2 separate regions of the Homo sapiens genome follow, and region 1 is linked to region 2. The links are contacts of gene promoters, found by promoter capture Hi-C in human tissues and cell types (Jung and others, 2019). All regions are on one chromosome and are shown on one strand. The core of a region is centred on a gene start or on the middle of the fragment in contact, and the rest is flanking DNA. Distances in the headings are between cores, read along the strand shown. Region 1 has its middle 120 kb from the start of PODXL. Region 2 holds the start of PODXL (podocalyxin like).

The links. The method cuts DNA at HindIII sites, captures the fragments that hold promoters and counts their contacts. A contact is called where the count stands out against the background at its distance.
Region 1: a fragment that was not itself captured here is called in contact with the fragment with the promoter of PODXL in region 2 in 6 of the 25 tissues and cell types used here (IMR-90 fibroblasts, aorta, bladder and 3 more).

Annotation. Positions count from the first base shown.
Region 1 is chr7:131,669,417-131,675,309 of GRCh38, forward strand. No RefSeq gene overlaps it. Among named protein-coding and RNA genes, the nearest start is that of PODXL, 120 kb to the left of the region's middle. The HindIII fragment of the contact is 6,509 bases long and covers 291-5,893 here.
Region 2 is chr7:131,555,218-131,561,373 of GRCh38, forward strand. PODXL (podocalyxin like) reads right to left here and starts at 1,411. Exons shown (of 9, transcript NM_001018111.3): 1 at 1,043-1,411. The coding sequence starts at 1,142. RefSeq lists silencers at 1,032-1,541, 1,622-1,681, 1,712-1,831 and an enhancer at 1,799-2,346. The HindIII fragment of the contact is 6,040 bases long and covers 1-3,219 here.

The DNA of each region.
Region 1 (5,893 bases), core at 2,295-4,794, 120 kb after region 2:
TCATTTGTGCTGTTTACCATGTGCCAAATTTCCATTTTTCCTCTTGCTGTACACAAGACAGAATTGTACTCCCTGTCCCTTTGATGTTAGACCTAGCTAAGTGACATCTTTGGCCAATGAGATATAAGTGCGGGTGGTAAATGTCACTCACAGGTGGAAGCTGTTAGGATCTAATATGCGATTCTCCCTTTCCTTCCTACTGCCACAATCCCAGACTTAAGCGATCCTCCTATCCCAGCCTCCCAAGTAGCTGAGACCACAGGTGTGCACCACTATGCCTGACTAATTTTTTTTTTTTTATTATTTCTTGTAGACCCAGGGTCTCCCTATGTTGCCAAGGCTGGTCTCGAACTCCTAGGCTCAAGCAATACTCCTGCCTTGGCCTCCCAAAGTGCTGGGATTAACTCCTCTGGCTGGCGAGGCTGTATCCTCCTCCTTCTGGTGGGTAGAACAGCATGGAGCTCTGCTTCTAGCTAACCCATGATGGATATGTAGCATGAGGAAGAAATCTACCTTGATTTTAGCTCCTGAGATTTAGTTTATCTTGTTCAGTCAGCATAACCTTCCATTCTGTCTGAAACATAAATCAGTATCTGCAGAGCAGCACTCCTTCAGCAAAACACTTGTTCATGGTGCTGGCTTAGGTGCTGCATGATGTGCAGTGAGAAAACACACAGAAGGGTGGAGAAATGGTCACCCACATTATGCAGCAGAGAAACATTATGTACAACAGCACTTGTAGGAATTTGAGAGGCAGATAATTTACCTAATGAACTTGTAGATTTAGGGAAAGAGTCTGGAAAGCAGAATTTTGTTGTTGTTGTTTTGAGACAAGGTCTCATGCTGTCATCCAGGCTGGAGTGCAGTGGTACAGTCACAGCTCACTGCAGCCTTGACTTCCCGGGCTTAAGTGATCCTCCTGCCTTAGCCTCCCAAGTAGCTGGGACCACAGGCGCATGATACCACACCAGGCTAATTTTTGTATTTTTTGTAAAGACAGGGTTTCACCCTGTTGCTTAGGCTGGTCTAGAACTCCTGGGCTCAAGCAATCCTCCCGCCTTGGCCTTCCAAAGTGCTGGGACTACAGGCATAAGCCACTGCACCTATTCAGCAGAATGTTCTGTGTTACTTACTCTTGACAACGCTTGGCAAGGTATTACAAGAAAGAGATGAGTTCAGGAAAGAGTTGGCCAATGTAAACCCCTTTTAGGGCTGGAAAAAGCAAATGCTTCTTATCTCCAAACAGTCAAAGATAAAATTGAGACAGACAAAGAATGATGAAAATTCAGTTTTGTAAGCAAGGATTAAATCACAGCCATGGATGTTACACCCATTTAAAAAATCTCTGGATGTATTAAGGCATCTTTTAGTAATGTTCCCTGTTCTAGCAATTAGACAAAATGTAACAGGGAAAAAGATTAATGGTGTGGACCAAAATACCTTCAATTAAATCTAGAGTGGCATGGGAGAAAGAAAGTAAAGAAATACAGTTAACAGGAGATTTATTTATAAAGGAAGCTTGACCCCTGGCATTGCCTGGAATCAAATGATAAGAAACTGAGAGTTTTGAGAAAATTACACATGCTGCCAAAGAACCATTGGCCTCATCTAGACTTCATTTGAATCTTAAAACAACTTTCAACTTTTGGGTCCTCCGGAAAATGTGCTTAGGAGGATGCTCTGCCCATAAGGAAGGCATATCTTCTGGGTTTCCCTGCAATTTTGGCCAAAGATGGTGGAAAAGGGATATCTCTTGAAGGGTAAGCTCAGGCCTGCAGAGAATGTTCCAGGAGATGGAGTCAAGACCTAATCAAGAATACACTTTATCCCTGGGGAAGAATGCTCTGAGATTTCAGAATTGCTGTAACCCATTATTCTCTTTTCTGAATGGGAGTGTTTACTGCCATTTTTTTGTCCCATATTTCAATATTAAATATTGGTACATTGGCAAAGCAGCTTATCTTTTTAGTCTTCTAATAAAGAGATATTGACCCAAGATCTAGAGATAACTACTCGTCACTTTGATGTAAAAATTACTGTGAAAATTTGATATCTTGGGGTTTGAGCTTGATGCTATGTTGGTATGGAGCCTTTGAGTTATCTCCTTTGAGAAAGGAAGAGTATATTTGCATCCAGGAATAAGAGTAGACCAAATATTGGGTTTTGAATAAGGTTAGACTGTGTGAGTCATTATTGCTCTTCACCAGTATTTCTGATTCTCTTCTTACCTATTGTGCTAGATGGGTTGCTCAGGTCTGACATTGGTCATGCAAAGGGTTGAATGAATTCTACAATGTCACAAGACATGCATAAAGAAATAGGTGCTACTTTATAAAAGGACAAAATCACAAGACCAGGGCTAGCAAGGCTTGATGCATGCAGTCTTTCTCGGTGATGCCAGGGCCAGACCACCTGCCCTCAGGGCTGGGGGTTCATTCCAGTGGAAAGCTTCTTCTACACTGTAGTGTCCCTTTCTGTAGGGAAAGTATAAGAGTGTGGCTTTATTAGGGGAAAGACAAAAGATGCTTGGTGCTAGGCCATCTGGATTTGGGGTGCTGGGCTTATCAGATTTGTCTAAGGACCTTGAGCCTTGTGGGATGTTACAGTCATCTCTGATGGGGGAGGAAGAAGATACCAGTGCAGGAAGATGAGCTGGACACTGCCTCACTAGCTGGGAAGAGGGAAAATCTCCCCAGTACTAACCAGCTTGCTGTCTGGGAAACCCATGGTGAGTGCCTTGGGTTGCATTTCTCCATGCCCTTGAAAATAGAAGCATCCGTATGACTTACTTTGGCCAATGAATGTGAGCATTTGAAGCCTCCCAGAGCCTGTATGCAACTTGCCCTTTTCTTCTCCCTACTATGGTCACCGTTGAAGTTGCAGAAAATGAGCCTCCATCAGCCTGTGTCCCCGCGTGAGGACAGTGTGAAACAGACACTCCAGCTGAGCTGTGAGAGACGAGCAGCATGAGGCAGAAATAAACCTTCGTTGTCTTACACTGTTGATTATTTGTGAGTTTTTTGTTTGTTTGTTTGTTTGAGATGGAGTCTTGCTCTGTCGCCTAGGCTGGAGTGCAGTGGCATGTGATCTCGGCTCACTGCAACCTCCGCCTCCTGGGTTCAAGAGATTCTCCTGCCTCAGCCTCCCAAGTAGCTGGGATTATAGGCACGCACCACCATGCTTGGCTATTTTTTTTTTTTTTTGTATTTTTAGTAGAGACGGGGTTTCACCATGTTAGCCAGGATGTTCTCGATCTCCTGACCTCGTGATCTGCCTACCTCGGCCTCACAAAATGCTGGGATTACAGGCATGAGCCACCGCGCCTGGCCTGTGAGTTGTTTTTAACTGCAGTATCACTGTCCTAGTCTACCCTGACCAATACAAACGAATCTTCTGAGTGATGGGATGTGCACATCCTTGGCTTTCCTAGATATTGCCAAATTGTCTTCCAGAGTAATTGCTTCAGCCAGTGCTATTCCTTACAGGAGAGAGAACTCAGAGCTTTTCTTTTCTTAAACTCCTACCCCGCAATGGTCATCACTGGATTCCAGTTGGCCTTTGAGTTGCTACTTGTTATCCTGGGTCTCAGGCAAGAATGGGATAGACCTGTCAAGGAGGGAAGAAGAGTGAGAATCTAGGCAGATAGGATGAAGACTGAAAACCTGGCAGGTCAGAAATCAGAGAGGTCAGCTGAGACAGGGAGAAATGAGTGTCCAAGGTCTGGTCAAAGAGGTCCCAGGCCAGGTCAGCTGAGAGCTGCCTGGAATGCACACTTGGAGCCTGGAGAACAAAAGACGCATCAGGGGCTCAGACTAAGGGCTTGGGCAAACAGGTGTCAGGATTCAGGCAATGGTTTTGGTACAAGGTAAGGGGATCCCCAGCAGGGATGGAGCAGAGGCTAAGTCAACCAACTTCTGGGCCAGGAGCTTCTTGCTTGGCTGGCGTAGGTCTTGGCACCTGGGTAGATCAGTTCGCAGAAAGACACAGACAGACATGCCTGGGTGGAAAAAAGGGTTTGAGGGGAAGAGAAGACAGGGGATCTCTGAAACTCCAAGACTCTGGAGTCCTAGAATGAAATGAGGTAAATGAGGTAAGATTTTTTCAGCCCTGTTGCTCTTCCTTCTTTTTGACCTGTCTGGTCCCATCCTCATGTGGGTCTTCAGGGTTTTCCCTTGGTACATAACTTTTCTCTGCAATCACCATTTTTTATTCTTCGTATCTTCACTGGTATCTGGCCCAGGGTGAAGAAAGGAAGTAACATTTATCAGGCACCTACCACATGCAGACACAGAACTGGGTACTTTTAATGCACTATCTCTTTTAATCCTCCCAGTAACTCCTTGGGGTAGCAGTTATTATGCTGTTTTATAGATAAGGAACCTGGAGTTTGGAGAGCTGAGTAATTTACATGAAGTCACATGAACAGAAAGTGGCAGCCTGGACTGAGAGACAGTCCAAGTCTATCGGACACCAGAGGCCATGCTCCTAACCACAGTGCCACATCTGCTCTTCTTAATGGAATGACCGTCCTTCATTTCCATGTCATTGCTCTTTAAATTTAATTTTGGGCTAATTGACCTAAGGGTTCAGTGGAGTCTCCTCTGCTGTCCCCAGATCATTTGTGTAGGATGGGGCAGTTCACATTCACCTCCTTCCTCAGGCGGGAAGTTTCACCCTCACTGACACCAGGGTCCCCAAGGAACAAGCCTTACTGTCTTTTTTTTGCAGGGCTGTGTGGCATGCTCAAACATATGGTTGGTTAGAGAGCCCACACAGAGGCATCACCAAGGGAAGAGGAGCTGCTCCCTCACTTAGGAGCCAACAGGTCCTGTCGTACAGGCAGTAGGTTTTTGCAAGGACCCGGGGGAGTGAATGATAGGCAGGGGGGAGGGGGATAAGCAGGGTGACAGCTGCTTCTGGTGGCTCTGGGTCACGTTCCAAGCCTAAATTAGCCTTGCTCTTTTCCAGATCTTCTGTGGGCTTGCTGCAGGCTGTCTGGCTGGTGCTTCTCCTCCTAGGCATGGATTAGTCCTTTTCTTCCCTTTCCAGTCTTCCCTTTTGGGTTTTTGTACTAGAGCTAGCTCACTGAGAGGCTAGATGGGGTGGCCTAAGTTTGGGCTGAGGCATGGAGGAGGGTGCTTGTATCTCTTCCTTGTCTTTTCTTGTTCTTAGGATGCACCTGTTTAAAGTTTTACCATTAGAGATTATTTTATTACAATGCAACCTGAAGTAAAGTCTTATAAGCAGAATTTGATATTCTCTGAAGACAGTATATTTGCATTAGTCCATTTTCATACTGCTCTGAAGAAATACCGGAGACTGGGTAATTTATAAAGAAAAAGAGATTTAATGGACTTTACAGTTACACAGGGCTGGGGAGGCCTCACAGTCATGGCGGAAGACAAAGGAAAAGCAACTTCACGTCTTACATGGTGGCAGGCAAGGGAGCATATGCAGGGGAACTGCCCTTTATACAGCCATCAGATCTCCTGAGACTTATTCACTACCACAAGAACAGTATCAGGGAAACCATCCCCCGTAATTCAATTATCTCCACCTGGCTCCACCCTTGACACATGGGAATTATTACCATTCAAGGTGAGATTTGGGTGAGGACACAACCAAACCACATCAACACACAAAAATAAAATTCTCATATTATTCTACTCCCATGCAGGGTAATTATGTCAACTAATAGGGGAAACCCATCCTGCCTCCTGCCCATCTTACACACACCCGATTGTGCCCCGCTCTTAGAAGGCTGTGGATGGAGGAGGAGGGGCTCCATCCAAGAGAGGAAACAGAAAGGGCAGTTTGGGCAGGCCGGGCCACTCACACAGGCTTGCTCTCAGCCAGCTCTGCTGCAGGTTCAGGGCTGGAGATACCAAGTCTG
Region 2 (6,156 bases), core at 161-2,660:
GTCCTCCTGGCCCTAGGGTGATCACACCACCTCAGCTCTTCCTGCAGACATGTGCTCAGGTGGGCAAAAGAGAATGAGAAATGCACCTCTCCCGTGGGGCTGAGCTGACTCTGGCTGTTCCCTAGGGGCTTAAGAACACCTGTTCTGGTTGAGTTTGCAGCCATCGCCTGTCCCCCAAAAGGGAAAGAGTAACATTTCACCTTGAAAAGAAACAGGGAGGGGATGTTTCTGAGGTGCAGGTGTTTCATGAGAGACAGGTACATTTTCTAAGGTGTGTCTAAAATGCAGCCCAATCCTATTCTACGAGAGAGAAGTTCCCGTTTGAACAAGTTCCCGTTTGAACAAGAGGATTCGAGGGGGGTCTCACCATCGTAGCCACGCACTAAGAAGCGATTGTTTTAGGGACACGGAGGTAGGACCCCCACTCAGCCAGGTGACTCTGGGACTGTGGAAGGTCCACTTACGACTCTGTACCTGCCCCAGCACGGGCTCAAGGAGTTGAGCCTGCACACATTACTTAGAAAAAACCTCTGCAAACGGGTAAGTACATCGCCCGCGTGGGCCGTGGCTGGAGGCTTGTCACCTGCTTCAGGGACTTCCTCGGGAGCCTCTCGCCTGCCTCTTTGCCTGGAATTAACGAATACACACTACAGCCCCTCATTCCCTCCAACACGAAGGAAAGGTGTAATCAGATCCCGAGAGTCCCGCAGAAGCGTGGAGCCTCGCGGTGCGGTCTCCCTTTTCTTTCCCATGCAAACCCACTTAGCACCGGCGCGCCCCTGTTTGCCCGGGCAGAATCCACCGCCCACTCCTCCCGAGTGGAGAGTGGAGACGAATCTACGCCCAGGCCCTGCACCTGCCGCGCTGCGGAGTTTGGAGGGGGCGTGGATGGTGCAAGGTCAGGGCTCCGTGTGTGACCCCGGCGGTGATAGGGCTGCTCGGGGTCGGACCACGCGGCGCGCCGGGCTTCCCTGCAGCTCGGCCGGGCAGGGGGCACATGGGCACGGTGGGAGTCCCGGCGGAACCCAGGCCGGCCACTCACCATTCTGGGAGGGCGACGGCGACGGCGACGGCGACGACGGCAGCAGCGGCGGCGTTGACAACAGTAGCAGCAGCGCCGAGAGCGCCAGCGCGCAGCGCATCGTGTCGTCGCCTCTGGGCCGGGAGCAGGTGGCTGCGGTGCCGGCGGAGGATCCGCGCGTCCGGGCGGTAGGAGCGTGGGCGCCGCCCGGGGAGGCCTGTGGGTGGCTCCGGAGGCCAGGCTGTGGCCCGGGGCTCCCGAGTCGCGCTGCGGCGGCTCTTCCTCCCTGCCGCTGCAGCAGAGCCGGGCTGGGGCGCAGAGCCAGTGGCAGAGGAGCGGCGGCGGCGGCGGCTGCGTCCTGGGCGGCGTCTGCGCGGCTGCGGCCCCACTGGCGGCTGCGGCTACTCCTGGCCCGTCCCGTCAGCGCCGGCCCCCGCCCCCGCCCCCGCCCCTCCCCCTCCCCCAGGAGCCCGCCAGCGGCGGCGGCCGGGCCGGGCGGGGCCGGGGCCGGGGCTGGGCGGGCGCTGGGCCGTGAACAATGAGCAGAGGAGGAAACTCCGCCCTGGAGCGCGACGGGCGGGAGGGCCGGCGGCCTCCGCGCCTTGGGGGGCTGTGTGTGCGCGGGGGCCAGGGCGGGGGGCTCCTGCGGTGCAGCCGGGCCCCGTCCACAGGTGTCCCGAACAGGTGTGTCCCCCCGAGTGCTTCTAAGTGGGCCCGGCGGGATCCCCCAGCACACCGCCGGGGCCCTCGCACTACGAGCAAATCCGGAGCGGGCGGACCCCCAGCCTTGCGTGGTAACTGATAACCATTCACGGCCTCCCGGGCTGCTGCGCGTTCTGCAGCGACCCCGGAGAAGCTCATCTCCCACCTGCCAAGTGCAATTCACCTGCCTGTGGGGCCCCCATCCCGCACGGCTTCTGAGCGGGGTCTCTCTGCAGCTAGGTGTGCAGCGGGCAAGCTGGACTAATTCACTCCTTCACCTCTCCAAGGGTAGGTTCCTTACCTGTGAAATGGAGATGATGGTTAAAAAACAACAGCAACAACAATTTCAGGGATGAATGTGTGCCAGGCTTTACATATATTAATTCTTTTACTCTTCATGACAACCATATTTTTAGCCTCATTTTGCAGACAGGGCAATTGAGTCAAAAAGAGGTTAAGAAACTTCCTGAGGCCACATAACGGGTAAGTGGCAAACCTGCCTCTGAGAGAAGTTTGGAGAAATACCGTGCACCGTGCCTGGAATATAGTAATTGCTCTGCAAGGAGTGGTTATTACTCTTATTCCTGCTATATAAAGAACAGCTATAAAGATTAGGGCTTTTGGGTCAAAACAGGCTGGGGCTCAAAACCTAACTGTGCCAATCTATTAATTGTAAAACCCTAGGCAAGCTATTCTCAGTACCTCATTTCTTTTTATCTGTAAAATAGGGATAATAACACCTACCTCAGGGGGTTGTTGGGAAACTTAAATGTGATCTTACAAGATAATACTTAGCCTAGGGCCAGGAACACAAAAGTCTCAATGAATGAAGTAGTTCGCCCTCCAAGTGAGGATCAGAGATATTTGCACACTGGGGGTGGGAGTGGGTGTTGGAGAATTCCGTAAACTGAGTTTATCCGGTGAAAGAACAAAGAAGTTCCTTTCCCCTCCCCCGCTCCCCTCCTTTTTTCCACCCCCAAAGCTGCCTGGGAGACGCAGACCCCAGGCCCGCCTGAAGAGGAGGCACATCGGCGGAGCCGGGAAGCGGAGGGGGCGAGGGGTGATTAACCTTGGAACCCGGGTACGGCGTAAATTTGGCTCACGTGACTCCGGGGTTGCTAATCTGGAGTCTATCTGCCAGATGGGGCTGGGTGGAGGGGTTTTCTCCAGGATCTAGCCGCGTCCCGGGCACAGGGGACTCCGTGAGCCCCTCAAGTCGGCTGCAAGCAGGCGATGCCTGCAGGGCACTGCGTCCCTGGAGCCGCGAAGGAAGCGCTGGAGCCCTGGCTGGGGTTCCGTGGCAGCCGGCCTCAAGCTTGGGAAGGGCTGACGGGGTTGTTTTCATCAGGAAGTTTCTGCAGGATCGTTCTGGCCCCGTTTTCCACACCGCATATGGGAAAGACAGAGGGTGTTCCCTATGAATACTCTGGGATATTTGTGTGTGTGACTATCTTTGATGTTTTTTTAGTACTGTTCCCCTGATATCATGTCAACAAAAGGCTTGTTTCTCTTCTGAAACCAAGCAATATATATATATATTTTTTTTTACACTGGGATTTTAAAAAATGTGTATCGCACTCTGATTTAAACAGTGTTTTTGCACTCAATCATTCAATTTATCTAAAAACTCAGAAGCAATCATGTTAACTTTATAAAGAGAGAGCGTATATTTTGAAGCTTAGGGCATTTTAAATTCACATGATTTGGGATTGGTGCCATTACAAGATCATGCAAAATTAAAATGAGAGCAGACATCTGGGCTTAGAGAAGACATAGAAAAGTTACAATTGTGCTGGACTCTCCCCAGTATCCAACAGCCCCCCTCAACTTATGCACAACGTGGCTTTCTGGAATGAGGCTGGCTGGGTTTTGAGGTCACTGGTGGCCACTGAGATGAGCTACCCCCAGGTAACTGGCCTGTGCCTTTGGCCCCATTTAGCATTGTGCTCTAACTAGCAAGCTCGCCAGCCCAGAACACCTGAGCTTATATTTGAAACCCAAAGCACTTTATGGGTGCTGTTTTTGAAGCTTTTCATCAGGAAGTTTCTGCAGGATCATTCCTTCTGGGATTTGTTGCATTTTGGTTATTTGTATACATGCGTTAGCTCTCCTAGCAGACATTCAGCTTCTTTAACATGGCGTCTTTCTTATTCATCCTTTACTTACTCAGACCACCAAGAACAGCACATCACTTTTTTTTTTTTTTTTTTTTTTTTGAGACAGAGTCTTGCTCCTGTTGCCCAGGCTGCCTCCGCCTCCCAGGTTCAAGCAATTCTCCTGCCTCAGCCTCCTAAGTAGCTAGGATTACAGGCATCTGCCACCACACCCGGCTAATTTTGTATTTTTAGTAGAGACGGGGTTTCTCCATGTTGGTCAGGCTGGTCTCGAACTCCCGACCTCAGGTGATCTGCCCGCCTCGGCCTCCCAAAGTGCTGGGATTACTGGCGAGAGCCACCGCATTTTTATCAAGCAAATGGTTTTGCTGCCCCATGGGCACAGAAGCCAATACTATGAAGCACTAGCTTTGGAAAAAGCAGCGGCTTTATTTGCAAAACTGGTCAGCAAAGAGACAGGAGTGAATTCAAATCTGTCTCCCCAGCCAGGCACGGTGACTCATGCCTGTAATCCCACAACTTTGGGAGGCTGAGGTGGGCAGATCACCTGAAGTCAGGAGTTTGAGACCAGCCTGGCCAACATGGTGAAACCCCATCTCTACTAAAAATACAAAAATTAGCCAGGCTTGGTGGCATGCGTCTGTAATCCTAGCTACTCAGGAGGCTGAGGCAGGAGAATTGCTTGAACCTGGGAGGTGTAGGCTGCAGTGAGCTGAGATTGCACCACTGCACTGCAGCCTGGGCAACAGAGCAAGACTCCATCTCAAAAAAAAAAAAAAGAAAAAATGTCTCCCCAGTTTGAGGCCTGGGGTAAATTTATGGGATCAGAAGGCAATGAAAAGATTTAGGAATGTTGGCTTGGCAGAATCTGATTGGAGGGCTTTAAATTTGACCATTTACAGAAAGGTATGTTGAGGCGGACTTTTAGCCCCACATCTTCCAAGCCATTGTACGTCTGGCTTCTGAGAGAGTTCTGGCATTCGGATTCCCATCAAGTCTCTTAGTCTTTTTAGTTCCAAGGGAGAATTCATTGTTTTGGGGTTGTTGTTAGAGTTCCAACTATTTTCTATTGCTTATGCTGGAGCAACGTGACATTTTGTTATCAACAGAGCAAGCCCAGTTTGGGCCTTTCCCTCAGTTACAACATCATACATATAGATACAGATACAGATCTATAGATACAGATCTTGAATGCAAATATGAATGTCACCTGGAAGATATTACGCAGGAACCCATGGCACAAGGTTACACATTTTTCCATGGCCCCTGGCTGTCAATGTTAGGGGCCATAATTCTCTGCCCCAGGTGCAATTTGGTGATGTTGTTTACCTAAGTGCATCCTTATGTGCAGACTCAGTAAGTCCTCTTGACCCTCATTCTAAGTAATACTGATCCCCAGTCACAACATCTAGGGGTGAGACAAAGCGTCCGCTACCACATCCCCCAAGAAAAGATGAGTGCACACATGTATCCATCCTGGAGCCACAGCTCCTACACATAAGGAGCCAGGGATGCTCTTACCTGGGCTTTCTAATCACTGACCTCTGAGTTCCTTGTGGGTCGAAGCAGTGTTTAATTCATCTTGGAATCCAGTGCCCAGTATGGTGGTGTCTGACCCCAAACAGGTGCATGACATTCAAATGCTGCATAGATGAAGAAGTGGTTGGATTTTCTCTCCAAGGTTGGGTTACCCCTGACTGCCAAGTGGTGCGGTTCTATGAATATCAGCTGGGACTCAAGTTGGGCAGCTCACCCCAAAGTCATGCCTTTATGTATTATTATTCAATAATATCTACCCTAATAGGCAGAGTGTGCTAGGTTCGGTGCACTGTGCTGAGAATGCAACCCTGTACACAAACATGACTAACATGTAGTAGGGGCTGTAACACATGGCACGGGTGGGCATGTGGGAAGCGGAGAGCAGGATGGCTCAGCCCCACCCGGGGAGGTCAAGGAAGGCTCCAGAGGAGGGAACTGGGTTTTGGAGGAGTTGAAGGACTTCACCAAGGGAAGAGTGAAAGGGAAGGCTTTTTGGGCAGATGGAACAAGATCTACAGGTATTTCGCCCTCAGCAGAGCATAGGATTTGTCAGGATGATGGGAGATGAGGATTGGAAGGTGGGTAAAGGTGAGACGCTTAGACAATGAAGAGTCACTACAGGGTTTTAGCTTGAACGGGCAAGACCAGCTTTTCTTTTTTTTTTTTGTTTTTTTTTCTGAGACAGAGCCTTGCTTTGTCAACCAGGCTGGAGTGCAGTGGCGCGATCTCGGCTCACTGCAACCTCCACCTCCCAGGTTCAAGCAATTCTCCTGTCTCAGC